2 separate regions of the Homo sapiens genome follow, and region 1 is linked to region 2. The links are contacts of gene promoters, found by promoter capture Hi-C in blood cells and fetal thymus (Javierre and others, 2016). All regions are on one chromosome and are shown on one strand. Each heading gives the region's core, a stretch centred on a gene start or on the middle of the fragment in contact. The rest is flanking DNA. Distances are from core to core; before and after follow the strand shown. Region 1 has its middle 29 kb from the start of EN1. Region 2 holds the start of CCDC93 (CCC complex scaffolding subunit CCDC93).

What was found. Contacts are between HindIII fragments. The CHiCAGO score rates a contact against its expected background, and 5 or more counts as called.
Region 1: a fragment that was not itself captured here is called in contact with the fragment with the promoter of CCDC93 in region 2 in 1 of 17 cell types (non-activated CD4 T cells); the score reaches 5.8 in non-activated CD4 T cells.

What each region holds. Positions count from the first base shown.
Region 1 is chr2:118,875,604-118,878,637 of GRCh38, reverse strand. No RefSeq gene overlaps it. Among named protein-coding and RNA genes, the nearest start is that of EN1, 29 kb to the right of the region's middle. The HindIII fragment of the contact is 5,915 bases long and covers 1-3,034 here.
Region 2 is chr2:118,012,627-118,015,326 of GRCh38, reverse strand. CCDC93 (CCC complex scaffolding subunit CCDC93) reads left to right here and starts at 1,257. Exons shown (of 24, transcript NM_019044.5): 1 at 1,257-1,373. The coding sequence starts at 1,332. RefSeq lists silencers at 1,050-1,249, 1,720-1,769. The HindIII fragment of the contact is 9,438 bases long and covers 1-2,700 here.

The DNA of each region.
Region 1 (3,034 bases), core at 17-2,516, 860 kb before region 2:
TGGTTGGTAACAGAGCTGAGAGCAGTGCCTGAGCTGACTGCTCCTCTCTATAGCCAACAGCATGGGCTTCCTGCTCCTGCTCTAGCAAAGGGAATGGGATTTCTTTAGGATGAGCCTGGCTGGATTTCCTGCCAAGGCATCTACAGTGGCAATGGGGTTGAAAAGCTAGGAGGGGCCAGCCTTGGTGGTGTGGTTTGCTGTGCAGATGGAGCCACCCTGAGTTCAAGAAACCCAGCAGGATGAGGACAGTGAGCACAGGCTCTGTGTTGGCCACATACTGGGTTAGAGGATAGCTGAATTGTTGGGTCATCCATCCATCATTCATTCATTCCTTCACTTAAAACTCACCTACTTCCAAAAGATATTTACGGCAGCTTAAAATACATCTAATATTGAAGGTTAAATGAAAGATAACATGACACAACCACTTTAGAAAACTGTCTGAAAGTTTCTAACAAATGTAAACACACACCTATCCTTTGGCTCAGCAGTTTCATCCCTAGGTCTTTACCCGAGAGAAATGAATCTATATATGCCCACAAAAGACTTCAAAATATTTGTAGCAGCTTTATTCATCATACCACCAAATTAGAGATGTCCTTGTGTCAGTCAAAGGAGAATGAATAAACAAACTATAGTACATTCATACGATAAATTTCTATTCAGTAATTAAAGGGGACAAATTTCCAAATATGTACAACCACATGGATGAATCTTACAGAAATTATGCTGAGTGAAAGAAGCCAGATGCAAAAGTGTATGTTCAGTTATCCCTTGGCATCCTGGGGGAATTGGTTCCAGGATCCCAGTGGACGCTAAACTCCATGAATGCTCAAGTCCCTTATGTAAAATGGCATAGTATTTGCATATAACCTACGCACATCCTCCCGTGTGCTTTAAATCATCTCTAGATTATGTATAATACCTAAAACAATATAAATGCTATGCAAATAATTATTATGTATTTTTATTTATATAGTTTTTATTGCTGTATTGTTATTTTTTATTGTTTTCTTCTTCAAATATTTTTGATCCACAGTTGGTTGACTCCATGAATGTGGAACCCATGGACAGAGAGGGTTGACTGTATTTATGAGTCCACTTATGTGATGGTCAAGAAGCAGCAAAAGGAATCGATGGAAACAGCATTCAAAATGGTGGCCACCTTAGCATGATGGGGAGCAGGAAGGGAGTGAGTGAGAGGAGCCTGTGGGACTTTCTGGGAAGATGGAGATGTTGAATATCTTGATTTGGGTGGGAATCACACAGGAGTATACATTTGTCAAAACTCCTCAAAATGTACGCTTAAAATCTGTGCATTTCAGTCTCTATAGAATATACATAAAACAAAGCAGAACAAGTAGAAACAACAGCAAACACCTCTATGATTTTCTTATAAAACAGGGAGGCAGTCTAGAGCCAGATGGGCTGGATTCGAACACCTTTCCAGCTCCTACCAGTCAACCGAAAAGTCAACCCAAGGGCTGGTTAATCCAAGTAACATCACCAAGCCTTTGTAGATAACTTCATGGTTTACAAACCCCATTCCAGCTCTTACCCCGTTACAGCTCTTACCAGCTCTTACCAGTGCCCACAGTCACACCTAGTGGATGGTAAACTCTGTTTAAAAGAAATATTAACCATTCAGGAAATGGGGCCTTTACTTGGAGACCATAAATTAAGGGTCTCCAAGATGGGGCTTTAGGAAAGGGCTCATGAACCTCTTGAAAGTAGTTGCAAATTCACTGTGCATAATGTGCGTTTGTGTTGGGAGAGGGTGTATAGCTTTCAATCAGACTCTAATATGATTGCTCCAGGACTCCAGAATGAGATGATTCATACAGATGAACATCAAAGTTAAACCCCAAGGCTCCTGTTTTTCTTTTCCCTAGAAGTGAGTTCCAAACACCAGCTTACCCACAGGGGAGGGAATTACACAGTGCGTGGGTCCCAGGAGGTGGGAATCCCAGGAGCCACCTCAGGGTCTGCTCTCACAGGAGGGGATGAGTAAGTCGCAAATGTGGGTTTCTTGTGATTTAACAAAAAACAAGGGTGAGGATTGAGTTTTCATAGCTTTGTAAGGGAATGATGCCTATCTGAGTGGACTACTGGACCACAGACATAGCGGGCAGGTGGCAGGGCTGGGTCAGGGGAGATGGAGGTAAGAGAAATCCCTGAGCTTGCAGAGAAGCTGTGCTTCAGATGATCGGGGAGGGAGGAAAGGGACTTGGGAGGCAGGACAAACTATGGAGTGGGAACTCCCCACCCCCGCCACCACCACCATTTCCCCTTCTCTATCATCTCCTCCGTCCTCACTTCTTGGTTTCTTGCACCAGGAGAAAGCTCTTGGTGTCTCTTTTTGAGGTCCTAGCAGTTGTTTCTACTCAGAACATGAAGAATGGTGGCGGAGCCTGGCCTAGCCCCGTGGTGGGGTAAAGTTGACAAATGGGTTGTTCATGGGCAGCGGAGCAGGATGGAAGTCAGATTTAAAGTCTGGATCCACGGTGGTCCAGGGGACCTCAATAAAGGGTTTTTCCTTCAATGTGCCTCAACTCATTGCCTATAAAATGAGGGTAAAAATCTCTCCTTCACGTAGTGTGTTAAGGTCTAAACTATACGGGGCATGGCATGTAGCACTTAGTAGGGCTCTGCATACAGTAGGCACTACAGTAAATCTCCCACAGCTACTATGGGCCCACTGGTGATTCTGATCATTTTACCTACTGTTGTCTGGCCAGTTAAGTGAATGTTACTTGGGTTTATGAATTCATTCAGCAAATAATCCTTGAGTTGCTACTAAGTGCTAGTGCTGTGCTGGGGCCCTGGGACACAGCAGAGAATAAGATGGACACACAGTCATGTCCTTCTGGGGTCCAGCCCTCTCTGAGCCACTGGTGTCTGCTGGGTCACAGCAGCCCCTGCTTCTGTGCCAAGGACTCCTCAGACAGAGACTCTGGCTCTCCCCTTCCCTTCTCAGATTGATTGACATTTGGGGACTGGGAAGGGGTGGGACAGGGCTGGGGTGTGGGGAGGG
Region 2 (2,700 bases), core at 8-2,507:
TATATATACACACATATATATATATACACGTATATATATATAGTTTTTAGACAGGGTCTTGCTCTGTCACCCAAGCAGGAGTGCAGTGGTGTTATCATAGCTCACTGCAACCTCAACCTTCCTGGCTCAAGCAATTCTCCCACCTCAGCCTACCGGCTAGCTGGGACCACTGGCACCGGGCTAATTTTCTTATTTTTTGTAGAGATGGAGGTCTCACTATGTTGCCCAGGTTGGTCTCCAACTCCTAGGTTCAAGTGATACTCCCGCCTCGACCCCCAAAGTGCTGGGATTACAGGCATGTGCCACCGCGCCTGCCTACTCTTTTAAAGACGCTAGGGATGCAAAGAAGAGACGAAAGCAAACACGAAACCTTTTTGATCTCAAGGAACTAAAGGTCTGAGTCTGACACTTCCCATCCCACACACATATACAGAGGGAAGGATCTCTTCTCCAGCAAAAGTTTTCACGAAAGTCATCTCTTTCCTCATTGCTTAAAAGAAACAAAAAGCCAAGAAGCCGTTATGGAGCGGGTGTGGGGGCCTGTGACCTTTTGTCTAGTTGCCATCCTCCGGGACCAACAAGGGGTACATCAAATAAGGGACGCGGCGGCTCAAATGACATGAACATAGGAGTCCGCATTCTCTGAGATGTCATTCCTCCAGGAAGACCCAGGAACCGTGAATAGGGCGGGGTGGTGGGCAATATCTGAAGCGAGGTTTCCTGGGAACGCGATGCCACTGGCCAGGACGCTGGAGAGGGCAGCGGGCTTGAAGAATCCCTTCTCAAGGGGTCCGTTCCTGGGTCGTATATGGAGAAGTCTGTCCAAGCGTGTGTCTGTAAGGTCTAGAGCCGGGCGTGCATTCAGAATCCTCAAGCTCATCTGTACTTGGACTCTGACCCTGAAGCGAGGCGGTTTCCGAAGTCTGATTCACCGAGGGGACAGGACCTATTTGGGGCATCCGATGGCAGCGAGAAGAGAAGGGAGCCGAAATGCAAAATATTCTCAAGATGCAGGAGGAACCCCTCTCAAAGAGCGCCACGGAGAAAACTTCAGAGTACGGGCGCGATGATCCAGCACAACGCCAGGACCTGCAGCCCAGCCCACCTCTCCCCGGGCTGCTGTGGCGCAGGCGCAGTGGCGCCGCGCTCCGGCCCCAGCGCGCATGCTCTGCCCGGCTGCGGCGCTTCGGGCAGGCGGCGGCGGCGGCGGCGGCGGCGGCAGAGGGAGTTTCCGCTTTGTACTCCACCCCGGTAGCAGCTCCGCGGCAGGGACAGCTTCCTCCGGACGCTTGGCGGGCTTCGCTCTCGCCTTACGACAGCCCGGTCGGATCATGGGGTTGCCCAGGGGGCCGGAGGGCCAGGGTCTCCCGGAGGTAAGAACGCCTCCTCCTTCCCTGACACGTCGGGGTTCCTGAAGAGAGGGCCGAGCCGCGGGGCGGCGGGCTGAGCGGGCCCTGGGTGCGTTAGGGGCGCCCCGCCCCCTTCCTCAGGCGTATCCACCTCAGGGAAGCGCCGACCCTCTTCTTGGAGGCGGGGAGCAGGTACCCCTGCATGGGCAGGGGGCGGCGGGCGGGTGAGGACAAACTTAAGCCGCTCCCGGGTCTCTTGGGGCGCAGGTGGCCTTCCTAGCCCGACACCTGCTCTGACGCAGCCCCACGCGCCGCGGGGTCCTGGGCTCCCACCTTTCTCCCTGTCCGGGACGGGCTCCCCCACCCCGCGCCGCAGGGCTAGCCCCGAGGGCCGAGGCTGCTGGGCGCTGGAGTCACGAGACCGCTCTCCGAGGCGGTTCGGGCTCGGGTGGTGACCTTGGGACGTCTACCGCCACCCCGCAGAGTCCCGGCGGCCCGCCCCACCCGCCTTGCTGTCGGGAGGGAATGCCACCCTCCTTGCGTGGACCCGGGCCGGGGCGGCGGGAGGAAGTTTGGGAGACTTGCGCGCACCAGGGAGGTGTCCCGCTGGGTCAGCGCGCCGGGGCGTTCGGGGTGGGACGCACTCCAGGGGTGCTGTGTGGCGGGGGACCCGGCTCTGGGCGGAAAGGCTGCGGCTTCTCCAGAAGAGGGCGGGGTTCTTTTCCAAAGGTGTTTGTTAAGTACTCACTTAGTGCTAGGGAGGGGGTCATGAGTGGTTTGCGGATTTCCACGTTTGCTGGGAATACAGGGAAAGTGTATTCATTTTCTTTTGGCTGCAAATACCACTTAGCATCTCATAGGTAGTTTGCATCTGTCGTCCCTTTCAGTTGATTTTACTCAAAGGCTAGTCTAGTTTACTGGATTCTGGAGAGAAATGGAAGCCACGCCGCACCTCTGCCTTTTTCCTAAGGTTCTGGAGCAGGCATTGGGCAGGGTGACTGCTTGCTTGACGTGGTGAGTCGTCCCTTCACACTTACCTGCCAGTGACCAATGTTACTCCTCTGCATTCCTCCCAAATCCTCAGTTCTTTCATATCACAAGTATCCACTAATTGAGGGATCACTGTGTTCTGTGTCCAGAAGCTGGGAATATATATAGTCTGAAAGGACAGATTTGTTTGTCAGTGTGTGCTCCCCGAATGCAAGTCCATTTTGTTGTCTTAAGAAAACCTGACAAGCATAATGTTGTCAGAACCCCTGTATTAGGTAAAATCTTACATGCACGTTGCCTGGGATGGGACCCAGGATAGTGAACAATAGGATTTGTACTGTGACATTTGAAGTTTTCTTTT